Regions from separate parts of the Homo sapiens genome. Here regions 1 and 3 are each linked to region 2. Evidence: promoter capture Hi-C in 16 types of primary human blood cells and fetal thymus (Javierre and others, 2016). All regions are on one chromosome and are shown on one strand. The core of a region is centred on a gene start or on the middle of the fragment in contact, and the rest is flanking DNA. Distances in the headings are between cores, read along the strand shown. Region 1 holds the start of PSMC4 (proteasome 26S subunit, ATPase 4). Region 2 holds the start of EIF3K (eukaryotic translation initiation factor 3 subunit K). Region 3 holds the start of FBL (fibrillarin).

Region 1 (3,449 bases), core at 695-3,194, 1.4 Mb after region 2:
GAAAATATCCAGTCTGAGGTATAGGGCATAGTCATAAAATGGAAACCATCCAGAATGAAAATGAAAGAACTATTTCTACACACGGTATGCATGAATCTCACAAAAACAACATTAACTAAAAGAAACCAAACACAGTACACAGAGTACTGGTCTAGAGAGAAGGAGAATTCAAAACAAACAAAAGTAACCCAGCTGTTACAAGTCAGGGCGAGTCCAGCCAGGCACAGTGGCTCATGTCTGTAATCCCAGCACTTTGGAAGGCTGAAGTGGGAGGATCATCTGAGTCCAGGAGTTCGTGACCAGCCTGGGCAACACAGCGAAACCCTATCTCTACAAAAAACATTTTAAAATTAGCAAGGCGTGGTGGCACACGCCTGTAGTTCCAGGTGCTTGGGAAGCTGAGGTATAGGATTGCTTGAGTCTGGGAGGTTGAACCTGGAGTGAGTAGTGATCTCACCACTGCACTCCAGCCTGGGCAACAGAGCAAGAATCTCTTTCAAAAGATATATTTTTAAAGGCTACATGGGGTGGGTCATGCCTGTAATCCCAGTGCTTTCAGAGGCTGAGGAGAGAGGATAGCTTGAGGCCAGCAGTTGGAGACTCTAGTGAGCTATGATCGTGCCACTGCACTCCAGCCTGGGCGACAGAGACTCTAGCTCTTAAAAAAAAAAGAAAAAAACAGATGAATGATAACCTTTAGAAGGGATCGGGAGGCCGGATGTGGTGGCTCACGCCTATAATCCCAGCACTTTGGGAGGCCAAGGCAGGCAGATCACTTGAGGTCAGGAGTTTGTGACCGGCCTGGCCAACATGGTGAAACCCTGTCTCTACTAAAAATACAAATATTAGCCTGGGCAACAGAGTGAGACTCCGTCTCGGGGCGGGGAGTGGAGGGGGGAGAAGAAGGGATGGGGGAAAGGGGAGCACATGAGGCTTCTACTGTTTGGTTTTGCGATCTGGATTCAGGTTGTATGGGCATGTTCACTTTGTGTAATTTTGTCGAGCTGTAATGATTTGTGCTCTTCTCTTTATTTAACTTCAATAAAAGGTTTACTTAACAAAAATTGTAGCTGGTGTGAAGGGTAGCAGTGTTTCCCTGGGGCCAAGAGTACAGGCTTTGGGGACAGACAGACCTGGGTCCCAATCTATGCTTTGTCCCTTCGGCACATTGTTGACTGTGGCTGGTGGCTTCGTGGCTCTGAGCTTGTCTCCTTCTCTATAAATGAGGAAACATAATACTTGCGACGATGATGCCTGTAAAGCTTAAGCGCAGGACCTGGCATAGATCTGTAAGGCGGAAACCTGGGATACAGAACTAAGGTCTATGGATCTCCTGTGCTACCCAACTTCTGGGCACTCGCTGCCTCCTTTTCCCCAGCCCAGACGCGTGGGTTCTACTCGATTGGTTGCTCACTGCGGGCTCGGGGCTCCTCAATCCCGGGGTAAAGCCCAGTATGAAATGTCACCTTCAGGGGCAGCTCGGATCTTCCCACGCCCGCGCGGCGCACAATCTTTGGATCAGCGCCACGTGGAGACCTTACCCGCCCGTACGATCAATCCCTTCTGTGGAACCCAGCTCAAGGACCCTCCAGCCCAGACACTAGAAAGCGAAGAGCAGTTGGCCGCCAGACTGTCCGTGCCAGAGCTCTGCGAACTTACTCCGTTGAAAGAGCAACGGGGCTGCGCCACCTCCCGGAGAGAACCCCCAGCCCTCCACGGCAGGGCGAGATGGCGCCACCGCGTGATACTGCGCACGCCCACAGCTCCCGTCCCGCCCTCGCGCCTGCGGGTACGGACAGCGCATGAGCTTATGTTGAGGGCGGAGCCCAGACCAGCCCTTCGTCCTATCCTGCCCTTCCAGCACCTCTCAGCCGTAACTTAAACTACACTTCCCAGAAGCCTCCTCAGCCAGGGACTTCCGTTGTCGTCAGCGGAAGCGGTGACAGATCATCCCAGGCCACACAGAGGCCGGCTTGGTCACTATGGAGGAGATAGGCATCTTGGTGGAGAAGGCTCAGGTACAGTGGGGACTTGGGCTTTTTAGTCCGGGCCGGGCTCGCGGGGAGAGGGTGAAGCCAGACCTGAGTGGGGGGAGGAATGGCTTCCAGGACCCCGGCCCAGGTTGGGGTTATTTTAGAGGCCTCGGTGGAGAGCTTTGTGCCATTCGAAGGCCTGTCTGGGTGGCCGAGTGATGGTAGGAGGTAAGGCTCAGAAAGCGGGGCTGGGGGAGTGAGTGACGTTAGTGGGTCTTTGAGACGGATTGATTTCGAACCCTGGCCGGTAGTGCTTAGTGAGGTCGGTGGCCCGGCGTTGGGATTGGGTCAGGCGGTGAGTGATATATGGGATCCCGCCGTGCGGCCGAGTGATCCCCGGGTCTGGGCTGCGGGGCTGACTGATGTTCAGGGCTTTGCTGATGGGGGTAATGGGGCGGGTAGTTAAGTATTATCTGTGGCTTGCCTGAGTGATATTTAGGTCTAAGGTGAGTTAGGAGACTGTGACATAAGGGATCTTTGAGGGGAAACTGGGGAATGTTGGGACTCGTTGAAGGCGCAGTCACTTTAACAGCCTATCTAGGAGAGCCATGTGACATTAGGAACCTCTTGAAGGGGATTGGGTGGCATTTGGGTCTGATAAGGAGTTGATGTGACGTTTAGATCCTAGTTGGGGGTTGTGTGACACTGGGGACATGTTATGAGTGGTATATGATAACATAAGATCTGTTTGAGGGGCAAGTTGACATAAAGAGCTTGTTTAGGTGGCCAAAAGGTTTCCAGGATCTATTTAGAGGGTCTTAAGATATCAGGGGTCTGTTAGGGGCTAAGTGACATCAGGGTGAAGTGGGGAGGGGAACAAACATTAGTGAAGTTGGGAAGCTTTCATGAGAGGACTGTCTTCTTCCAATGTGAGTTATCCCCTTTCGTCTAGGATGAGATCCCAGCACTGTCCGTGTCCCGGCCCCAGACCGGCCTGTCCTTCCTGGGCCCTGAGCCTGAGGACCTGGAGGACCTGTACAGCCGCTACAAGGTACATTCGACCCCCAACCCAGACCTTGCACAGGACCTGACATCTCATACTCTTCCCCACTTTCCACCACTCTCTGGATCAGCAAGTCTGGAGCCATCCCCTTCTGTCCCCTCTCTGCTCGCAGAAGCTGCAGCAAGAGCTGGAGTTCCTGGAGGTGCAGGAGGAATACATCAAAGATGAGCAAAAGAACCTGAAAAAGGAATTTCTCCATGCCCAGGAGGAGGTGAAGCGAATCCAAAGCATCCCGCTGGTCATCGGACAATTTCTGGAGGCTGTGGATCAGAATACAGCCATCGTGGGCTCTACCACAGGTGTGCTAAGGACACCTCATTCATTCATCTGTCCACTTAACAACTATTTCCTACCATGTGCTAGGCAGCAGCAAACAAGGCAGGGCAGTGCAGTGCAATGTTCTTCAGAGTATT
Region 2 (3,645 bases), core at 1-2,500:
GCCTCAGGGCTCAACTTCTGGCACCTCCCTCCGTCCCCAGAAGCCCTGCACCCGCCTTGCCTCCGCGGGCTGTGGCCTCCCCCCTCCTCACTCTCGCTTCCTGCCCCAGCTGCACTGCACGACTGTGCAACGGGCTCCACCCCCCCGTCCCCTGGGCTCTGAGAGCCTCTGAGGGGCAGCTTGTCTTGGGACCCAAGGGACCACCCTCAACCTCCAAGGCCCAGGGCTGGATGTAAATGTGATGCAAATGATCTTAATCGTAACTGGGTTGGAGGGGGGTGCCTTAGAACCCCCGCCCCCGTCTCCTAGGTAGTGTCTAAACCTCTGCTGGGTGCTTGAAGGTTTGGCCACAACCCGAAGGCGGCAGGTCTGCAAAGGGATGGCTATGCAGTGTACATGCCTGTTCACCTGTCACATACATGCACTTGGGTTACCTCCTCTGCACTGCGCAGGCGTGTAGACGTGCATCTGCCTGGATACCTGTGTGCACAGTACACACGTGGATGTACCCAGGACATATACCTCCACATGCATGGCACATAACTGCATTTTGTAGGCCTGCAGTGTACAAAACCTATACATAATATATAATTCATGGCAGTACAAATGGGACGCTCGCCCTCAGCTCCAAGACCGGAACCTAATGGAGACGGGGCGCGATCCGGCGAAGTCCAGGAGCCCTCACCCCAGCCCCTGCCCGGCAGAGCACAGTAGCTTTGTGGGACCCTCCTCCTGGAGCTGGGGACCAAGGGCTGAGACTTGAAACTGGAGAGCTCAGGATCCTGCACCAGGCGCCCAGGCCTGTGGCAAGAGGGACCTCAGAACACCTCCCTCGGAACTTGGCCATGGCCTAAACGTAAGGCTGCTGCGTGCATTCCCGCAGAGCTCCGTGGCCTCATGGCCGCGCGCAATACAACGCGCGCGCACGCCGCCAGAGCTCCGGGTGCTTCCCGGTGAGTTCGCGCGCGCACGCTCCCGCGCTACCGGCACTGGAACTGGGTCTGTGAGGCCCGGGAAAAGCTTAGCCCCGCCCCCTCGCCACGAGAGGCGCCTGCGCACTGGGATCCAGTAAGATTTTTCTCACGCTGTCTGTCCAGCTTGAGTGGCGCGAATGCGCACGCGCCAATTGCGCCTGCGAGGAAGAAGTCACGTGGCAGCCGGAAAGCGTGGCGGCTGCTGCTAGAGCCTTTCCCTTTACCGCACCCAAGGAGCTGGAGCGACAACAACGACGTCGTTTCCGTTTCCACCACCTCTTCCTGTTCCCGTCCTTGAGGACGCCGTGCCGGGTCAGTGTTAGCCTCCAGCCCTGGTTGTGGAAGGCGACAGAAGTCATGGCGATGTTTGAGCAGATGAGAGCCAACGTGGGCAAGTTGCTCAAGGGTATCGACAGGTCTGAGCCCGGTTGGAGGAAGCGCTCTGGCCAAGCGGGGCGGAGGAGAGGGTTTTCCGGAGACAGCAAGGGGTGTTCAGGGTCCTGGGCTTGCCGCGGGGTGGGGTTTCTCTATCCTCCTGGAGGAGGAGATGCTTAAAGAAACGGCACTGAGCTGGGGGTAGTGGCTCACGCCTGTGATCCTAGCACTTTGGGAGGCCGAGGTAGGTGGGTCGCCTGAGCCCAGGAGTTAGAGACCAGCCTGGGCAACAGCCAAACCCCGTCTCTAAAAGAAAGAAACAAAAGCACTGCAAAGGCCTAGAAGCGAGAGAATCTTGGTACCACTCAGTCTCTTCGTAAATTGCCTTAAGGTTTCCTTCTCTGCTCCGCCTCCTTTGAGTGCCTCTTAATCTCTCCCTTCTCTGCTCTATAAGTCATTCATTCTCCACACGTTTACTGAAATAAACTGTCAGTGCTAGGCAATGCTGGGAACCACAGGCGAATCAGACAGCGGCAGATCATGCCTTCACGGTCTGAGTTCCCTTTCCATAAGGGAGACAAACCTGACAGCAGACAGCGATAGCCGGGAGAGATTAGAACTGAAATGGGGGAAGCAAAGGCCAGAGTGTTCAGGTGGACATGGAGGAAGTAGGCAGCGAGGTAGGCAGGAGAGGATGGGGCTGGATCAGGGTGGAGGCCTGAACAGGGGAGGAAGGGGTGAGTAGCAGAGACATTCAGGAGGCCAGGTGTACAAGCTGCAGTGACTGACTGGCTCAGAGGTTGAGGAGGCATCCTAGGGAAGAGCCAGGGCTCCAGTGGAGTTTAGAGCTTAGGCGAGAGGTCTGGGATAAGAATAAGTTTTACTAGAGATTATACTGGACATAATTCACTACCTGGATAGAGCAAGTGGCCAGTGCCAGATTTAGAGGGGAAGGGCGGGAGGAGCAGGTTACAGTGGCCCCTTGCTCCATAAGGTGGCTGGCCTCAGCTTCTGTCTCCTCTGTGCTCACCTATCTTGATTCTCCTTTAGGTACAATCCTGAGAACCTGGCCACCCTGGAGCGCTATGTAGAGACGCAGGCCAAGGAAAATGCCTATGATCTGGAAGCCAACCTGGCTGTCCTGAAGCTGTAAGTGTCTAGCTCTCTGTCTACACTCCCATTGCAGCAACTAGCAGGGTGCCACTCCCAGTACAGGGCAAGGGGGTGGCTGGTAGTATCCTGAACAATGCAGCATCTCTTGGTGTGCAAGACTAGGAAGCCAAGGAAGTTGGGACAGGAGGAGGGATGGTTTTTGAAAAATCAATTGCCGGGCGCGGTGACTCACGCCTGTTATCCCAGCACTTTGGGAGGATGAGGCAGGCGGATCACCTGAGGTAGGGAGTTTGAGACCAGCCTGGCCAACACGGAGAAACCCCATCTTTACTAAAAAATACCAAATTAGCCAGGCGTGGTGCCACATGCCTGTAATCCCAGCTACTCGGGAGGCTGAGGCAGGAGAATTGCTTGAACCCAGGAGGCGGAGATTGTGGTGAACCAAGATCGCGCCATTGCACTCCAGCCTGGGCAACAAGACCGAAACTCCGTCTCAAAAATAATAATAAAAAATCAATTAGGGTGGCCGCAGGGGCTCATGCCTGTAATCCCAGCACTTTGGGAGGCTGAGGCGAGAGACTCACTTGAGCCAAAGAGTTCGAGACCATCCATGGCAACATAGCGAGACCCAACCCTACGAAAAAATTTAAAAATTAATGTAGCGGTGTGTGGCTGTAGTTCCAGCTACTTGAGAGGCTGAGGTGGAAGGATCGCTTAAGCCTGGAAGATTAAGGTGCAGTGAGCCATGATAGTGCCACTGCACTCCAGCCTGGGGGACAGAGTGAGACCCCTCTTTTTAAAAAAAAAAAAAAAAAAAAGAATTACCAATTTGGGTGACATGGCACAACCCTGTCTCTACAAAAATTAGCTGGGCCCAGTGGCGCATGGCTGTAGTCCCAGCTCCTTGGGAGGCTGAGGCAGGAGAATTTTTTGAGCCTGGGAGGCAGAGGTTGCAGTGAGCCAAGATCATACCACTGCACTCCAGCTTGGGCGACAGAGTGAGACCCTGTCTCAAAAATAAATAAAGGTTAATTACAGAACACATGTACAGGCTAATACATTAAGCAAACATGTAGTTTAACAAATCATTATAAATGAAAGCCTACATAATCACCATTTATGTTGCAAAGTTATTGCTAGCACCACAGGCTCTTTGCCCCCTATGCTCTATGCCAACCAATTC
Region 3 (3,451 bases), core at 549-3,048, 1.2 Mb after region 2:
CTTGGTTATCCTTGACTCCGATCACACACCCACATACAATCTGTTGGTTCTGTCTTCAAAAGCATGTAAAACTGTCAGCATGTCCACTGCTCCCATCCTGGTCCACCACACCATCTCCTAGATTACAGCAACAAGCTTCCCACCAATGTGCCTGCTTCCACTTTTGCCACCCTGAGGTCTTTCACACATCGAAGCAAAAAGAATCCCTTTTAAAAATGTCAGACTGCACCACGCCCCTGCTCAAAAATCTCCCAAAGGGTTCTTTTCTCACTCAGGCTAAAATCCTTACTAAAGAGCTAACACCTGACAACTTTTACAACTTCACATTCTACCACACATGGAGGAAGGTTGGAAGAACGGGTATCCTCCATTTATGAGGGAATCACAGACCAGAATGCCTGCAGGCAAGCCAGGATCTCAGCATACCTGGCCTACAATCCCCCACCCCACTTCATCAAGAGATCCCCAAACACGGAAGAGAAAGGGAACTTGGGAGAAGGGCACAGATCCACAAATCTCCTGCCAGGTGACCCCCATCTCTCCACACAAACACACACACAAAAGAAAAAGAAAGCCTGTACTAGGAAAACAGACCCTTTGGGCCATGGTGGAAATTCTCCAAACTCAATGAAGCAAGTTCTCACACAGATGAGTGCGGGTTGGGCAGGCCAGATGGAGGAAGTGCTCAGGCACCACCGAGAAGGATTCTAATGTTGTTCTCTTTGAGAAAGATAAAGGTAACAATTAGAGCTAATACTATTATATGTCAAGCACTGTGCTATTTTTTTTAACGTCGCTTAATCCTAACTGGCGCCATTTTATTGATGAGAAAACAGAGGCTCAGAGAGGTAAAGCCACTTGCCCAAGTTCACACAGCAGGCTAAGAAGCTGAGCAAGAGCTGACACACTGAACTGAGGCCCTTCTGCTGTCAAAGCCAGGACCCCCTCATCATTCCACCATGAAGGGAGTGGTTTCAGCAGAATCTAGTGGAAAATCTTAAGAATAAAACTACTTACCTCCTGTGACAACCACCCGCCCCACCACCCCAGACTAATGCCGAGCTTGTTAAGTCTCGTCCCGGAGGTGGAAATCTTAATCCCCAAATCTCCACTCCATCCCCGGGGATCCGCCCCACTGTAAGTGCAGAAGGCGGGAAAGTGAGCCGAAGAGCGCCGCACACGGCCAACCGGGGAGTCCTCATCCACTCCGGCCCACTCGGAAAAGCTGGGATGCGGGATAAGGGGATGGTGGTGGTGGCAGCGACAGGGAAGGCAAATGGGGGCTTCCCACACACAGCTCCAGGACCCAAGGTCAGGAACTCTCCATCTCCGACCCAAGCCTGATTCCCAAAACACGCCCAGCGATCCAAGACTCCAGATGCCTGAATCCAAACTCTAGCCCAAGACCCTTGAGTGCCGCCTCCTGCCCAATATCCAAAATCCCTATTAGACGGCCTCAATGAGACGAACCCCACGTCAACACCCCCAATGCCAGGCCCACGGCCTTCTTCGACTCACGACCGTGACCTCTGAAGCCAGTCACAAACCCCTAGACCTGCTGGAATCAGAATCCCCCTTCCCACAGGAGACTGGAACCCGTGCTCAGAACCCCTGCCCCCAGGCCAAGGCCCCACCCCTCCGATTCTGGCCTGGCACCCGGATTCCCGCCCGGCCTCCGTCCCTGACCCCGGACCCTCACCCCAGCCTGACCTGGCTTCATGGCGAGCCCTGGTTTGTGCGGCTCCGGAGTCCGCGGCGTTCACAACTCCACGAGTCCGGGGCTTTCGCACGTGGAAAAGAGCGCAGGCGCGCGGCGACGTGCGCTGCGTGACGCCACCCCGTAGTCCCGCCCCCGGGCCCCTTCCCCGCCCGGAGCTCGGCGCACGCGCAGTGAGCCTGGATTCTCGAGCCTGTCGACACGCAACCCGCTGCCCTCGCTCTCTGCCTTCCCAGCCTTTGCCTGTGCAGCGGTCGCCCTAAACTCGCTTCCGGTTTCCTCTTCCCCAATGCGAGCACCCCAATAATCAGGGCTCATAGCCTTCGCACGGGCTGTGCCCTCTTTTGTATTCCTAGCTAAATCCCTCTGGCCCCTGTACACCCAAAAAGGCTTCCCCAATACATTTCCAGCCCCAAGAACAGTGACCGACTCTGGGCTTCCATTCAAACATCCGAAAAACATTTACAGTGCACCTCGTGTGTACCAGGTGCTGTTCTAGGAGCTGGGAATACAGCGGTGTACGAGACATAAAAATCTCCACTCTCCTGGAGTTCATCTTTTTAATGGAGGAAATAGACACCAAACATGTTGAATGTTTGAAAGCGATAAGTGCTTTGGAGAAAATAACAGCAGGGAAAGGGGATAGAGATTTTGGAGGGCAAATGATTTTTGTTTTTTTGGCACGGTGGTCAAGGAATGCATCAGGAGACTTTTGAGCTAAAGGGCTGAAGGAAGTGAGGAGTGAGGCATGCACCTATCTAGGGGAAGAGAGTTCCAGGCAGGGAAAAGATCTGCAGATGCAGAGGCCCTGAGGAAGGAAAGATATGGGAAGTTGGAGAGACAATGAGGAGGGTGGGTGGGGCAAAGTGAGCAAGGTGGAGAGTAAGAGGAGATAAGGGCGGGTAGCTAACAAGGGCAGATTGTGCGGAGCTTTGTGGGACATAGTGAGGACTTAGGCAGTAAGATGGAACCATGGAAGGGTTCCAAGCAGAGAAGGAATGTGATCTGACACAGGTCCCTCTGGCTGCATGTGGGAAGCAGACTGCAGGAGTGAGGGTGAAAGCAGGAAAACCAAGGACTGGCTGCTGCCGTGAATCAGAAGAAAAGGATGGACAGATCAGAGTGGGGGCAGAGAGCGGCGTCAGGGGTCAACAGATTCTGCTTAAGTATTAAGAATTTTGGGCTTTGTAATTGTGTAATATCAGTATCCATCCCTATATTCATTCTGCAAAGCAAGACAACTGCTGTTATGAGAAGTTACCGAAAAACTCCAGAAGAACCTACCAGTCCAGAGCCTAGATGTTGACTCTGTTCCATTCACTGCTCTATCACTCTAGGCCTAGGACAGCCCTCTGGGTGCCCAGTAAATGTTTGTTGAATGAATGGATGGCCTCATACCGTTGTGAGTTCTCTGTGTACAGTGTTCCAGCTGTGGAATGCCACCAATTTGCACAGAAACATTCCTGAAAGATTGTTTAGATATTATGATGGAAAATCTGCTTAAACTTTTCAGAACCGGTCGGGGCAGTGGCTCACACCTGTAATCCAGGCACTTTGGGAGGCCGAGGCAGGAGGATCGCTTGAGCCCAGGAGCTTAAGGCCAGCCTGGGCTACAGAGTGAGACCTTATCTTTACAAAAAATAAAAAATTAGCTGGGTATGGTTGCTTGCACCTGTAGTCCCAGCTACTCAAGAGGCTGAGGCAGGAGGATCCTTTGAGCCCAGTAGGTCTAGG

What was found. Contacts are between HindIII fragments. The CHiCAGO score rates a contact against its expected background, and 5 or more counts as called.
Region 1: the fragment with the promoter of PSMC4 here is called in contact with the fragment with the promoter of EIF3K in region 2 in 1 of 17 cell types (fetal thymus); the score reaches 6.8 in fetal thymus.
Region 3: a contact is called between the fragment with the promoter of FBL here and the fragment with the promoter of EIF3K in region 2, in 1 of 17 cell types (fetal thymus). The highest score is 5.3, in fetal thymus.

What each region holds. Positions count from the first base shown.
Region 1 is chr19:39,969,221-39,972,669 of GRCh38, forward strand. PSMC4 (proteasome 26S subunit, ATPase 4) reads left to right here and starts at 1,945. Exons shown (of 11, transcript NM_006503.4): 1 at 1,945-2,018; 2 at 2,926-3,024; 3 at 3,149-3,335. The coding sequence starts at 1,983. LOC124904720 (a long non-coding RNA gene) reads right to left here and starts at 1,751. Exons shown (of 3, transcript XR_007067260.1): 1 at 1,660-1,751; 2 at 1,134-1,216. RefSeq lists enhancers at 1,265-1,314, 1,815-2,204, 2,229-2,908. The HindIII fragment of the contact is 1,611 bases long and covers 1,261-2,871 here.
Region 2 is chr19:38,617,938-38,621,582 of GRCh38, forward strand. EIF3K (eukaryotic translation initiation factor 3 subunit K) reads left to right here and starts at 1,251. Exons shown (of 8, transcript NM_013234.4): 1 at 1,251-1,390; 2 at 2,400-2,498. The coding sequence starts at 1,332. MAP4K1 (mitogen-activated protein kinase kinase kinase kinase 1) reads right to left here and starts at 16. Exons shown (of 31, transcript NM_001042600.3): 1 at 1-16. RefSeq lists an enhancer at 540-589. The HindIII fragment of the contact is 6,969 bases long and covers 1,019-3,645 here.
Region 3 is chr19:39,844,581-39,848,031 of GRCh38, forward strand. It overlaps FBL (fibrillarin), which reads right to left and starts at 1,799. Exons shown (of 9, transcript NM_001436.4): 1 at 1,711-1,799. The coding sequence starts at 1,720. RefSeq lists an enhancer at 604-1,344. The HindIII fragment of the contact is 4,240 bases long and covers 134-3,451 here.